Linked DNA regions of Homo sapiens: all the other regions are linked to region 1. The links are contacts of gene promoters, found by promoter capture Hi-C in blood cells and fetal thymus (Javierre and others, 2016). All regions are on one chromosome and are shown on one strand. The core of a region is centred on a gene start or on the middle of the fragment in contact, and the rest is flanking DNA. Distances in the headings are between cores, read along the strand shown.

Region 1 (2,700 bases), core at 25-2,524:
TTGTCCTTCAGCTCTCAGCTCAAAGGAAGGCCTTTCCCTACCACCCACTCCACGGCAGCCACTCAGACATGTCTCCCTGTCTTGATTCCCAGCAGAGCAGGTAACACTGCTGAATGAGTCCTTGTTCGTTTATGTATCTGATTGGTTACAGTGTGAAGTTCTATGAGAGCAAGAACTCTCAGTGCATCCCCCAGCACCTGGGACAAATCTTGGCCACTAGGATCAGCAAATGACCCCTGACTCCTGGTCACTTCCCCATGGATCTCAGGCCTGGCTGCCTGCATGGCCTCAAAAGGGCTTCTTACTTTGGTCGGCTCTGGCTTCAATTCCAGGCAAACTGCCTTGTAGTTCTTGCTCTGCAAAAAGAGGAGACTGAGATTCAGGCTGGCAGACATCAGGATTGGGGAGGAGAACATCTGGCCCTTGCACGGGAACCCTGCCCCCTGCCCCCCACAACCATGCAACCCTGCCTGTCCAACTGGCTTGAGCTCAGGCTCACAGACCCCGCAGCACCCGGATCCGATTCCTAACAAATCACATCTTGTCGTGCTGTCCTCTTCCTATGGGCGTGTGTCTGCCTATTTGGCAGGCAGCCCTCTCCCTGCTGGAGGCGCCAGCGTGGAGAAAGCACTTTAAGATAACTAGAAGCAAGCCCCGGAAGTGTTGTTTCCAGAGCAAGGGCTTTGGCCATAGGCAGATTTGCACTATAGTCTCAGCTGACCTCTCTACTATCTCTGTTATTTTGGGTGAGTTGCTTAGCCTCTCTGAGCCCCCATTTCCTCATCTATAAAATCGACGTGATGATTATATTTATCTAATAAGGTTATTCTGAGCCTTAGCCCTGCTGGTTAGATGTGGGCCTGGCAGGCCTGGCATGGGCCGTGGAACCATGAGTGGTCTTGGAGTAGGGAGTGCTCCCTTGGCAGTGCTCCTCATCCCCAGAGGGAGGCAGCAGAGGCCTCTTTCCTTCCCACCCCCAAGGCTAGGGATTAATCCCACACCCCTTCCAGACTGAGAGGCTGCTTTATGCTCAGTACAGAGAAAGAAAAACCAGAGATTCATGCGAGCATTCTCTGTATCCCTTGCCCCGACACCATCTCCATTCAGTAGGAGCTCAGAGAGGACCCACACTGTCCAGCAATGTCTCTCTTTTACCAGATGTGTTTTCTTCAATTCTGCCCTCTTGGCCGACATGATGGAGGAGGCCAGGGTGTTCTTCAACTCCCCACAACAGCCCCTGGGACCAGGCCACTGTCCTAGGCAACTTACAGGTCAAGGTGAGGGCAGGGTGACCACCCCTTTGTGTACGGAACAGCTGAGGTCACAATGCCAGGACCCACATGGTGGTCCAGAGCGTCACCACAGCTTCAGGCCTGGGGGGCTTCGGCCACTGAGATGAGGGGTTCAGGCCAGGTTTCAGAGTCCCACCAGGCCTCCCTCTTGCAACAGAAGGAAAGTCCACACTGAGGAGGATCATGGCCTGCTACGGTCGAAGTGCAAGGCACGCGTCAGAAGCAGTGGCTCCTTCTGCAGCAGGACTCACCTACTGACTCAGAAGGACGTCCTCCAGGGACAGCCAGCTCCTCCTCTGAGCGCACAGCCCATGTCCTCTGCTGTGCGCTCCTCGCGCGAACCGACCCCACCTCGGACCGGAAGCCACCTTGGGCTGGAGGATGCCATGAAGTCTCTCTGGTTCAACGTGCATGCACCGTCTCACTTAACCTGGGTTACTCTGTATGAGGTGGGGTAGCCAGTCTCAGCAGGATGGTTTCTGATGCCTCTGACCTCACACTGCCCCTGTCCCACAACCACCCCCAGACCCCTGCCCACCTAAAAATTCTCTTTTCCTAGTTCTTCTATCATCCGGGAAGAGGGTTGGGACAAGAAGCTAAAGATAAGAAGCTTTTCGGGCAAATGAAGAATACTAAAGAAAAGGCCATTCTGCGGGTAGCCATAGTTTGTGCTAAAGTAGACAGTCAGAGGAACATGGCACCCCATGGGATAAAAAATCACTGGGGATCTGGGTTGGTGAAATTGATTTCTCTTTTCCTCTTATCACTGGTCATTCACTTCCTTCTTCCCTCTCATTTCAACTGCTAGTTGCACAGAAAAGGCCAACATGGACATCTGAGGACAGACAGCACAGGAGTACAGGAACTAATGCAAATTGCATGTGAATGACATCCCCATGCAGGCCACTACTGACCACACTTACCCTCCCATTTCACACACCTGCTTGGGACTATCCTTCCTGGAGGCCACTGGAACTTCTGGAGCCACCTGCAGCACTTCTGATGCATTTCCTAGGTGGTGATTTCCCAGCCCTGACACTGGTGACAGCTGTGGGTCTTACTCCACCATAGCCAGAGGAGAATGTGTCTGCCACTGCATCAGCGGAAGGAGAGGGAGTTGGGGGTGGTCACCAGCTTCCCAGGCTTCACTTTCCCCACTTATAAATGAGGGGCTGGAACTTTTCAGTTTCCTTGGACCTTTTAATTCAGCCCTCTCAGATCTGATGGCCTCGTGGTAGGAATGCCCTTCCTCTAAGGGAATTACAGTGAAAATGACTGACTCCATCTCAACATCCACCAGCCCCGTGAAAATGTGCCCCACCTCCTTCTGCTAATTTTGGCTTGGGGGCCTCCTGGACCTGCAGTAGAGCTTCCCTTGCTTGGCTGAGCAGTTGTTAAATGAGCTGCC
Region 2 (2,881 bases), core at 4-2,503, 450 kb before region 1:
ACACAACAAGTAGCATCTTCTTCGCGAAGCCTCTACTGACCTGTGTTCGGTGAAACTGAGTACCCCTGAGTGCTTTGTATTTCTCATGATCCTGTTTGTTGTATACGTGTGTGTACACAGGGCCTCTCCTACTAGATATTAGGCTCCTGAAGGGCAGTGACTGCCTTGTTCATTTTTGTATCAGCATCTAGCACAGCGCCTGGCATGTTGTAGGTGCTTAACAAACATTTGTGGAGGGAAAGAAGGAAGGAGAGAAGGAAGAAGGGGAGAGAGGGGGAAGGAAGGAATTAAGTTGACTATTGCTCATCTCTTCCCATATGAAGGGGTTGTGATCATTTATATTGTTGCGTAACAAGCCACCCCAACATTTAGTGGCTTAAAGCAATAATCATTTTATTTTCTCATGATTCTGTGGGTCAGGGATTCAGGCAGGGCTCAGCTGGGTGGCTCTTCTTCTCCACGTTATTGGCTGGGGCCATTTACTTGGCTGTATTTGGCTGGTGGCTTGGCTGGCCTAGAAGGCTTCATTTGCATGGCTGAAGCTTCGGTGCTCCAGCAGGTAGCCTCTCCCCCTCCATGTGGCTTGAACTTCCTCTCAGATTGATGGTCATGGGATGGTTACATTTCTTACCTCACAGCATGTTTTCAAGAGGGAACATTTCAACTGACAAAGACTTATAAGAAGCTGTGAATCTCTTAAGGCCCAGTCTCAGAAGTTACATTATATCATTTCCACTAAGTTCTTTTGGTCAAAAACTGGTCACAGGGCCAGCCCAGATTCACAGGGGAGGGGCTCACTGGGAGGAGTAACTCAGGTTATGTTGCGGGGTGGGGGTGCTCCTAGTGGCTGTGTGATGTGGTGAAACAATCCTAGGCTTTAGAGGCAGGAAACCTGGTTTAAATCTCGCCTCCCTCACTTACCAGGTGTCACGTCACCTAGCTTCTTGAGATGAGGATAACAGCATCACCTCTTTCAGAGTGCTATTGTGAGCCTCGAGTGAGATCCTGCATTTGAAAGTGTTCTACAAAAGCCAGGCCAGTTATTATGAGTGGCAGAACCAGGACTAGACACTGAGCCAGGCTTCTAGCCCACGTCCTTCTCCTCCCTTCACACTCCCCTTAGGAAGAAGCAATAAATACATATTCATTGAGGGCCAGTGGACACAGGCCACCCTCTCTGCGCAGGGATTCTTTCTCATCCTAAATAAGATGCAGGTTATGACATTGCCATGTGACTCAATAGGTCTTGGGCTTCTGTTGCTGAGGACAGGGAATAGGGTTTCCAGGAGAAAGTGGAGTTTTTTGTTTTTGCTAGGGGAGGTGTCTGATTTAAATCCAGGCAGAAAATAAGAGGAGTAAGAGGCTGGGCGTGGTGGCTAACGCCTGTAATCCCAGCACTTTGGGAGGCCAAGACGGGCGGATCACAAGGTCAGGAGATCGAGACCATACTGGCTAACACGATGAAACCCTGTCTTTACTAAAAATACAAAAAATTAGCTGGGCGTGGTGGTGGGCGCCTGTAGTCCCAGCTACTTGGGAGGCTGAGGCAGGAGAATGGTGTGAACCCGGGAGGCAGAGCTTCCAGTGAGCCGAGATTGTGCCACTGCACTCCAGCCTGGGCGACAGAGCGAGACTCCGTCTCAAAAAAAAAAAAAAAAAAAAAAGCAGTAAGAAACATTTCTTTTCAAAAGGCTTTAAACTAACAATGTCCTTACCCTGCAACATCCCCCTAGCCACCCCTCACCCATGAGTAGCACAGAATACATCCTGACCCCACAGCCAGAGCACATTTGCCCAAGACTGTGCCTACAGACAGCCTGGCATGGAGAGGCCAGCAAGGCTGACCAAGTGCCAGCCATTTCAGGGTTAACAAACAAACCTGCCAAAGAGAATTGGGTCATGTGTGTTCTTTCCACAGAGAATGGCTGAACGAGCATTTCTCTCCTAACTGGTTTCCAAGCTTCCCCTGCAGTCTGTTCTCCACACAGCAGCCAGTTATCCCTTTAAACCTTAAGTCAGAACTCTCCAGTGGCCCTTCAGCACATCAGGGTAGAAGCCCACGTCCTCAGCTATGAAGTCCTGCTGGGCCTGGCCTCTCTCTCACTCTCAAATGCTTGCCTTTCCTCCCTCCCTCCCCACCGCTCGTGGAATACGCCAGGCTTTGGGCTTTGCACAGGCTGTCCCCTGCATCTAGAACACTCTTCCTCCAGATATTGGTGTGGCTCACCCTTTCACTTCCTTCAAGTCTTTGCTCAAATTTCACCTTCTCAATGGGGCCCACCCTGACCATCCTATTTAAAACTGTAGCCTAGGGTGGGTGTGGTGGCTCATGGCTATAATCCCAGCACTTTGGGAGGCCTAGGCGGGAAGATCACTTGAGGTCAGTGATTCGAGACCAGCCTGGCCAGCGTGGTGAAACCCTGTCTGTACTAAAAATATAAAAATTAGCTGGTTGTGGTGATGCATGCCTGTAATCCCAGCTACTCAGGAGGCTGAGGCACAAGAATTGCCAGAACCCAGGAGGGGAGGTTGCAGTGAGCCAAGATCATGCTATTACACTCCAGCCTGGGCCTCGCGACAGAATGAGACTCTGCCTCAAAAATAAATAAATAAAATAAAATAAAATAAAATAAAATTGCAGCCTTCAACTTATTACCTTTATTGTCTTTCTCCCTTCACTAGAAGGTAAGCTCTATGAGGGCAGGAGTCTGTTTGGTTCACTGATATATCCCAAAGTGTCTAAAGCAGTTGCTGATTTGTGGTGCTCCCTGAAGTTCTCTGCTGCTATTTCCAGTGCTCCCCTTTCTGGGTACATGGCAGAATTACACTCTCCCTACTCCTCTAAGACAGCCATGTGATTTGGTTTGGTTCCTGAAATGAA
Region 3 (2,700 bases), core at 80-2,579, 470 kb before region 1:
GAGTAGCTTGCACATATTTTCTCCCATTCTGTAGGTTGTCTCTTCACTCTCTTGATTGTTTCCTTTGCTGGGGAGAAGGTTTTTAGTTTAATATAGTCTCATTTATCTATTTTCTTTAGCTGTGCTTTTGAAGCCTTAGACATAAAATCTTTGCTTAGACCAATGGGCTGAAGCACATTTTCCTTATGTTTTCTTCTAGCGTTTTTATAGTTTTGGGTCTTACTTTTCAGTCTTTAATCCATTTTGGGTTGATTTTTGTATATGGTGAGAATAAGGGTCTAGTTTCATTCTTCTGCATATAGTTCCCAGCACCGTTTTTTGAAGAAGGTGTCCTTCTTCAATATTTCCCAGCACCATTTATTGAAGAAGGTGTCCTTTTCCCAATGTATGTTCTTGGTGCCTTTGTCAAAAATTAGTTGGCTTTAAATATGTGGATTTCTGGATTCTCTATTCTGTTCCATTGTTCTATGTGTCTGTTTTTATACCAATACTATGCTGTTTTGGTTACTATACCTCTATAGCTTTGTCGTGTATTTTGAAGTCAGGTAGTATGATGCCTCCTGCTATTTTTTTTTCTATATATATTGCTTTAGCTATTTGAGGTCTTTTGTGGTTCCATATGTATTTTAGGATTGTTTTTCTATTCCCATGAAGAATGTCTGGTATGTTGATAGAGATTACATTGAACCTGTAAATTGCTTTAGTCATTTTGATAATATTAATTTTTCCAATCCATGAGCATGGGATGTATTTTCATTTGTTTGTGTCTTCTTCAGTTTCTTTTATCAGTGTTCTCTAGTTTTCATTGTGAAGGTCTTTTGCATCCTTGGTTAAGTTTATTCCTTTTTTTTTTTTAGCTATTGTAAATGGGGTTCATTTCTTGCTTTTTCAGTTCATTTATTATTGCTGTATAGAAACACTACTGATTTTTATATGTTTATTTTGTATCCTGCAACTTTACTGAATTTGTTTATTAGTCGTAACAGTTTTTGGTGGAGTCTAGGCTTTTCTATATATAAGGTTATGTCATCTGCAATAAGGGACAATTTGATTTTCTCTTTCCAAATTTGGATGTCCTTTCTTTTTCTTCCTAGTTGCTCTGGCTAAGACTCCCAATACTATGTTAAATAGGGATGGTGAAAATGGACATCCTTGTCTTGTTCCAGTTTTTAGAGGAAGGGGTTTCAACCTTTCCCTATTTAGTATGATGTTAGTTGTGGGTTTGTCATATATAACCTTTATTATGTTGAAGTGTGTTCCTTCTGTGCCTAATCTGTTGAGAATTTTATCATGAAGGAATGTTAAATTTTATTACATGCTATTTCTGTGTCTATTGAGATGATTATATGGTTTTTATCCTTCATTCTGTTAATGTGATACATCACATTTATTGCTTTGTGTATGTTGAAACATCCTTGCATCCTTGGGATAAATCCCACTTCATCATGTGTATTATCTTTTTGATGTGCTGTTGAACTTGATTTGGCAGTAATTTGTTAAAAAGTTTGAATTTATGTTCATAAAGAATGGTGGCCTGAAGTTTTCTTTTGTTGTTGTAGTCTTGTCTGGTTTTGGTATCAGGGCAATGCTGGTCTCATAGCATGAGTTAGGAAGAATTCCCTCCTCTTCACTTTTTGGAATAACTTGAGAAGAATTGGTGTTAAATCTTTTTCAAATGATTTGTAGGCTGAGTGCAGTGGCTCAGATCTGTAGTCCCAGCATTTTGGGAGGTTGAGGTGGGAGGGTTGCTTGAGGCCAGGAGCTGGAGACCAGCCTGGGCAACATAACAAGACCCTGTGTCTACAAAAAAATAATTAGCTGGGCATTATGGTATGCACCTATAGTCCTAGTGACTCAGGAGGCTGATGTGGGAGAATCACTTGAGCCTGAGTTTGAGGCTGCAGTGAGCTATGATCACACGACTGTACTCCAGACTGAGTGACAGAGTGAGATCATGTTTCTAAAAAAATTTAATAAAAATTGGTAGAATTTTGCAATAAAGCTATCTGGTCCTGGGTTTTTTTGCTGGGAAACTTTTTATTACTGATTCAATCTCATTACTTGTTATTGGTCTTTTCAGGTCTATTTCTTCCTGGTTCAATTTTGGTAGGTTATATGTGTCTAGGAATTTATCCATGTCCTCTAGGTTTTCTAATTTGTTAGCATATAATTTTTCATAATAGTCTCTAAAGATCTTTTGTACTTTTTTCTTTTTCTTTTTGAGACAGAGTTTTGCTCTGTCACCTAGACTAGAGTGCAGTGGTAGGATCTTGACTCACTGCAACTTCTCCCTCCTGGGTTCAAGTGATTCTCATGCCTCAGCCTCCCAAGTAGCTGGGATTACAGGCGCCTGCCACCACACTCAGCCAATTTGTTGTATTTTTAGTAGAGACAGGGATTCACCATGTTGGCTGGGCTGGTCACAAACTCCTGACCTCAAGTGAGCCACCTGCCTCGGCCTCCCAAAGTGCTGGGATTACAGGCATGAGCCACAGCACCTGGCCGATCGTTTGTATTTCTGTGATATCAGTTGTAATGTCTCCTTTATCATTTCTAATTTTATTTATTTGGGACTTCTTTTTTTCTTGGTTAGTTTAGCTAGTAATTTATTGATTTTGTTTATATTTTCAAATAACCAACTTTTTGGTTTTTTGATTCTTTGTAATTTTTTAGTGTCTATTTCATTTAGTTCTGTTCTGA
Region 4 (2,806 bases), core at 140-2,639, 360 kb before region 1:
GGCAGATCCCTTTAAATTAACCAAAAGGATGCCAACTTGCCATAAACTTCATTTCCCTCCAGTATCTTACTACTGATTTACTTCACTGATTTATATTACCTGCTCCATTCTTCTTGTGAGCATTTGCCTTTCTAGGCCCTTGTGTTTGCAACCTCTGGTATACCTATATATGGCATAGGAATTCAAATAAATGATTCTGTGAAAGAGGTAGAAAATAAGCTCAGACTTTAAATAAAGGATGTGGATCAACAGTGTGGCCTAACAGAAAGAGAAACACAGCACAAGCTACAGCAATAAGGAAGGGAAAGCACAGGTATGTAGAGAAAGCCCAAAAGTTTTATCTAGAAGCAGCTTACAGCAACTAGGTAATCAATGACAGAGAGTGTGGCATAATGCTTTGGCATTAGATTCAAATCCCAGTTCCACTACTTAGTACTTAAGTGCTAAGCTAAGTTACTTAAGCCTAAGTTTGTGTTTCTTCAGCTACTGAGTTATTTAACATTTCTTCAATTAATGAAATACAATAGTATAGTTGTACTCAACACTTATTCATTTCTTCCACCACCTTATTTCATAGCAGAAGAACCTTGCCAGAGGCAGGTAAAGTGATTTGTCTAAGTTCACATAGCTGGCATAGAGTCAGAGCTTCCTTGTTTTTTACTCAGTTCAGGGTTATGTTTGTTTTTAAACCACACCACATCAATTAATAACAAGAATGACCTTTTACAGAGAGGAGAGGTCATTTTGTAGAATAGGAGGATATGACATTATGTAACACCAGAATGTAATATTTAAAAGTCTTAAGCATCTGAAAGAATTTCACTTATGTTTGGTAATTATATATAAAGGCTGTTTTATCTTAAGACACATTACACAGTAAGACATAACATACTACAACAACATCAAGTTTCTTGTAAGTTTAAAACCTTCATTAGCAACTTAGTAAAATGTTTACAAATTCTTCTAGGCTATAAAGAGTATTTATTACATTATTTAGGTGGCTGCCTCCTGACAAAGTCTAGCTCTTGTTCTTTGTTAACAAAAACCAAACTCATCAGCCTGCAACTACTTCTAAGTGAAGTGGAGCACTATTTTTTTTTTCGGTATTCAACTTAAAAGATCTCTGGCCAGCAGACTAAAATGTTTGTTTTATAATTGCCCGCTGAACTATGATAGTTTGTTTCCAGATGGTGCCCTTCCTTCAACCTGCACACAATCTCTCCTTGTTCAAAACTATTCAACCTCCTGCTGATCCCACCCCCCTATTTAAGGCTACAAAGAGGAAATCCTAAGGAGATTCCCGCCCCCAGTCTCCAGCAATTTTTGGTGATGTAATATGTGGGCTGAACTTGAGTCTACTGAGAAAGAGGGAATCACTATTCAGGGGTACTGTATATACAATCTGGGTCAGCTGCAGCTGGTTACTGCATTTCTCCATGTGGCAGACAGAGCAAAGCCACAACGCTTTCTCTGCTGGATTAAAGACGGCCCACAGACCAGAACTTCCACTATACTACTTAAAATTACATAGGTGGCTTGTCAAATTCAATTGATTAGTATTGTAAAAGGAAAAAGAAGTTCCTTCTTACAGCTTGGATTCAACGGTCCAAAACAAAAATGCAGCTGCCATTAAAGTCACAGATGAACAAACTTCTACACTGATTTTTAAAATCAAGAATAAGGGCAGCAAGTTTCTGGATTCACTGAATCAACAGACACAAAAAGGTATTTAATATTTCTTTTATTTAAAAATATTATGTATAGCAAATGCATAACTATTTTATATTTGTAGTAGAAATTTCAGAATCTTTTACTAAACAAAGACCTTTGGAATATACTACAGTTTATCTCATCTGAAAAAGGTTTTATCTTGCAACTTGACATAAAAACATTAAGTACTGTGCAATGGTTAATGCATTATTTGAGGTTCAATTTAATGATGTTTAGTGTATATGATTACAGACTGATACATGCATGCCATGCTGGGTTTCTGAAAACAAGTGCTTTAGTGACAGTAGAAAGAAATTTTAACAAGTAACAGATTAAATGTATAAGGCTTACAGCACAATGATTAAAAACAAAGGAATACAAACTAAATAGTCGTGAACACAATTAGTTTCTCTTCCTGCAGCCACAGTGTGTGTGCTGAAGATATACATAAACTGTTGGATTTCTCAGTGTAGTCATAAAACAAAGCTAAGATACAAAAATAGTTGAAAGTCTTTGCAACAAAATCTCAATTACAGTATAACCAAATATTAAGCAGAAATTCTTGTACAGATTTAAGATTAATCTATGGCATTTCTTGTTCCAACTCAAAATTTTAAATAGCTTTCCAGGCTTACATGTAATAGTAATTTAATTTGGATGACAGAAATTAAACTTGCTACAAATGGAATCACTTGGAAAAGCTAAGTTATTGATATACACACAAAAGCATTATGTAAGTGGTATTAACAATAGAAAATAAGAACCCAGAAGATGTAATTAAATTCATGACTAAAAGGCCAAAAATATGTAATATTTTAGGTAGAAATAATTTTGTTAAGCACACATAAGAGGTTTCCTTCAATATTCTATCTGGGAGCTTTTTTTACATGCATTATAAAAACTATTAAAGATAAAATTACTCGTTACCAATAGTATGCCTTAAACCAAAGACACTTAAGTTTGTTAGATTTGGGGCTCCTTTAGCCTTGTAAAAATTAAAGATATTAATGGTTAAGAATCTTGAACAAGCAAATAATGGTAAAGCTAAAATTTTTTCCAACTTTGCTTTTGTGTCCTTTCCTTAAAGATTTAAAAC
Region 5 (2,700 bases), core at 175-2,674, 420 kb before region 1:
CTATCCAGGGGCTCTGCTATAGCTTGGCTCCAAGACATCATGGCATAAACACAAAAAGGAAGAAAAGTCTGTCTGTACAACTTATAGAATAAGAAACTATGAAGTCATGCTTCACTGTCAGAATGAAACAACTTCTGGCTCTTTTGTTAGGAAGTTGCTTATGTCCAACTTACCTGACAAGGAGCCCCAGAGAGAGACCACAGTTCAAACTTGCTTGATTTCACCTTCAGCTGTCTGCTAGTGTCTAACATTTCATAGAGAGAGACGAGAATAGCCACTCTCAATAATGGGTCCCAGCTGACCAAGGGTGCAGAATATTTATGCTGGCGGTTCCCATCTGCTGAGCGGTTACAAGCGCCAGGCCCTGTGCTTTGCATCTTCCACGCATGACCTTATTCAACCTCACAATAAACTTAGGAAGGAGGAGCTTTCTCATGCTGTTTTTGCAGATGAGGAAATACACTTGGGAGGGTAAGTGTGGTGGACAGGAAGAGTTGAGTGATGTGGGCAATTGAACATGGAGGGATAGGGGGCCAGAGTCCCACTCTTCTCCAAGAAGGGTGCCGGGTCATCAGGGAGGGCCAATGCATCCACTGGCAGATCAGTTAATCAGCATTACTAGTCCCAGAGCCTAGCAGAGGGCAGGGCTCCTGGGCACAGGAGACAGAGGAGCCTTCATCCTTCAAAATGCCTCTCAATTGTTTCCTACCTGTGCTCCCACTTTGGGACAGACCCTTGCTCTCTCTCTCCTGGAGAACAGCTGTTTCCTGCCTGGTCTCCCAGCTTCCATTCTCCAATTCCTCCTTCTGGCACTTAAAATCCTGAGCAATTTGGCTCCAACCTACTTTTCCAACTTTATGTGTTGCCACTTCTCAGTGTGAGCTCTTCCCAGCCTCAACTGTATATTTCCAGCTCTTGCTTGCAATTCTTCTCCCCTGGTCCTAAATCCTACCCACCCATGGACTCTCCTCTTCCACGTGGCCTTCCCTGGCCTCTCAGGGCCACAGTGTTTCTCCTGAATACGAAGAACTTTCTTAGTCTAGCATGGGCATCCAGCACATTTATGCAATTCAGGATTGCTTGTGTTAACCACTCTGTTTTGTGTCTGTAGTGAGGCTGTAAAACTCCAGGGACCACATGCAGCACAGTGCAAGGCCTACTGGGAGGCTCTGTCCCGGGAACAGACATTGGAAAAAAAAAAAGGTTATATTTACATGTTGACAGCACATGGATTTCTTCAGCTGAAAACTGTCATTAGCAAGGAAAATTAAAGTAGGAAGCTTGTTCTTTCTTTGAGTTTCATAATAAATCACAAAGTCATTTGCGGAGCTTTTGTGCTGCAGGTTCTGGGCACCAAAACTGCAAGTTACAGCTCTGAAAGCCAGTGTCCACCAGGGCCGAGAATCAGACCAGAGTTTGAATCCTGGCTCCACCTCCTTACTGGGTGACTGTAGGCAAGTTCTTCAACCTCTCCAAATTTTCTGGTTGTAATTCAAGAAGAAGTATCTCTACTATACAGGGTTGTTAAGAAAGAATAAATTAGATAACAATGTATAAAATAAGCTTAGAACCACAACATCAGAACCAATGACTATATGATGAATCAAACTGACTTACTTTCACAAAATGCGTTGGGAACTTAGAATGGTATCGGTAGGAAAGTAGTGAGGACCTGAGGTGGGGTGAACAGGAAAACAGCTGCTCAGTTGCCTTTGCTTAGGATGAGTTTGTGCTCCGGGCGCAGGGATTAGGTGATGAGGAGGTAGTTGCCACTGGACAGGGAAATGTGTTGCTTCTTCCCAGCGACCTCAGGGGACACTCTCCTCACTGACTGTGAGATCCCCTTGGTCAGGGACTGCCTCCCCTTCCCCAGAACCTAGCACAGAGCAGGAGTTCAGCACATACTGGTTTTCATTGAACATTCCCAAGTACTTACTTTCCAAGAATAAAAGAAGCAGTTCTTTCTAGACTTACTTGCTAAGCAAAAAATGGATAATTAAGATGTTGCAAGAAAGTCGCTGGCAAAAGTCCAAGGAGCTGCTTTTCTTAAACCCTGCACGGAGGTGCAGGGGGTGACATATTTTGACAGCTATGACATAGCTCAGGGCAGATGGAAGAACAACAAGTACAAAAGAGAACTTGATTTTGGCTTTGGCCAAAGAGAACTTTTGACTTTGTTTGGCAACTGTTTACTGGATACCATAGTAGCATGCCTTGCCCTAGTGTGGTGTGAGAGCTGCCCCTCAGCCAGTGATGGAGAATGAAAATACTTGAGAGTAAAAGCCTAATTATTTAAAAATACATCAAAACAAAAGCAAAGAGGGAAACAATCTGGCTTCAACGTTTATGAGAGTCCAGAGTCTCTGAAGAAGCTGGTCCTGTTAAGGAATGGAAGACAGGGCCCCAAGGGAGCTGAGGGCGTGGCTGCTTCCCCAGGGCCTGCTGTGGGGGCCAAACTGACCCTGAGAGGCAGTGTGTCAGCTTCACAGCTGACTTGAGAACCAGCGGGGCCCTGGGTCTGGTTTACCACAATAAAGGAACAAAATGTTCCCTTTCTAGCAGAGCCGCTGCTGGTGGGGTTCGGGACAGAGGCGGGTCAGGGCCCTCCGAGATGTAAGGACACTGCTTTGCTTTGCCAGTGAACTCTGGTTTGGTTTGGGGGTATTTCATCTTTAAGGACTGTGAAGGTCCCATTTGTTC

What was found. The method cuts DNA at HindIII sites, captures the fragments that hold promoters and counts their contacts. A CHiCAGO score of 5 or more calls a contact.
Region 2: a fragment that was not itself captured here is called in contact with the fragment with the promoter of TEX35 in region 1 in 2 of 17 cell types (total B cells and naive B cells); the score reaches 9.2 in total B cells.
Region 3: a fragment that was not itself captured here is called in contact with the fragment with the promoter of TEX35 in region 1 in 2 of 17 cell types (total B cells and naive B cells); the score reaches 8.7 in total B cells.
Region 4: a contact is called between the fragment with the promoter of ANGPTL1 here and the fragment with the promoter of TEX35 in region 1, in 2 of 17 cell types (naive B cells and total B cells). The highest score is 8.6, in naive B cells.
Region 5: a contact is called between a fragment that was not itself captured here and the fragment with the promoter of TEX35 in region 1, in 1 of 17 cell types (naive B cells). The highest score is 7.5, in naive B cells.

The regions. Positions count from the first base shown.
Region 1 is chr1:178,511,683-178,514,382 of GRCh38, reverse strand. TEX35 (testis expressed 35) reads right to left here and starts at 1,274. Exons shown (of 9, transcript NM_032126.5): 1 at 1,156-1,274; 2 at 306-356. The coding sequence starts at 1,194. LOC101928866 (a long non-coding RNA gene) reads left to right here and starts at 1,333. Exons shown (of 6, transcript XR_001738307.2): 1 at 1,333-1,741; 2 at 2,101-2,307. The HindIII fragment of the contact is 3,272 bases long and covers 1-1,904 here.
Region 2 is chr1:178,962,595-178,965,475 of GRCh38, reverse strand. No RefSeq gene overlaps it. Among named protein-coding and RNA genes, the nearest start is that of FAM20B, 62 kb to the left of the region's middle. The HindIII fragment of the contact is 1,418 bases long and covers 545-1,962 here.
Region 3 is chr1:178,980,156-178,982,855 of GRCh38, reverse strand. No RefSeq gene overlaps it. Among named protein-coding and RNA genes, the nearest start is that of FAM20B, 44 kb to the left of the region's middle. The HindIII fragment of the contact is 4,309 bases long and covers 1-2,700 here.
Region 4 is chr1:178,869,660-178,872,465 of GRCh38, reverse strand. ANGPTL1 (angiopoietin like 1) reads left to right here and starts at 1,389. Exons shown (of 6, transcript NM_004673.4): 1 at 1,389-1,725. The region is part of intron 8 of RALGPS2 (Ral GEF with PH domain and SH3 binding motif 2); the gene reads right to left. The HindIII fragment of the contact is 10,209 bases long and covers 1-2,806 here.
Region 5 is chr1:178,931,838-178,934,537 of GRCh38, reverse strand. No RefSeq gene overlaps it. Among named protein-coding and RNA genes, the nearest start is that of ANGPTL1, 62 kb to the right of the region's middle. The HindIII fragment of the contact is 283 bases long and covers 1,283-1,565 here.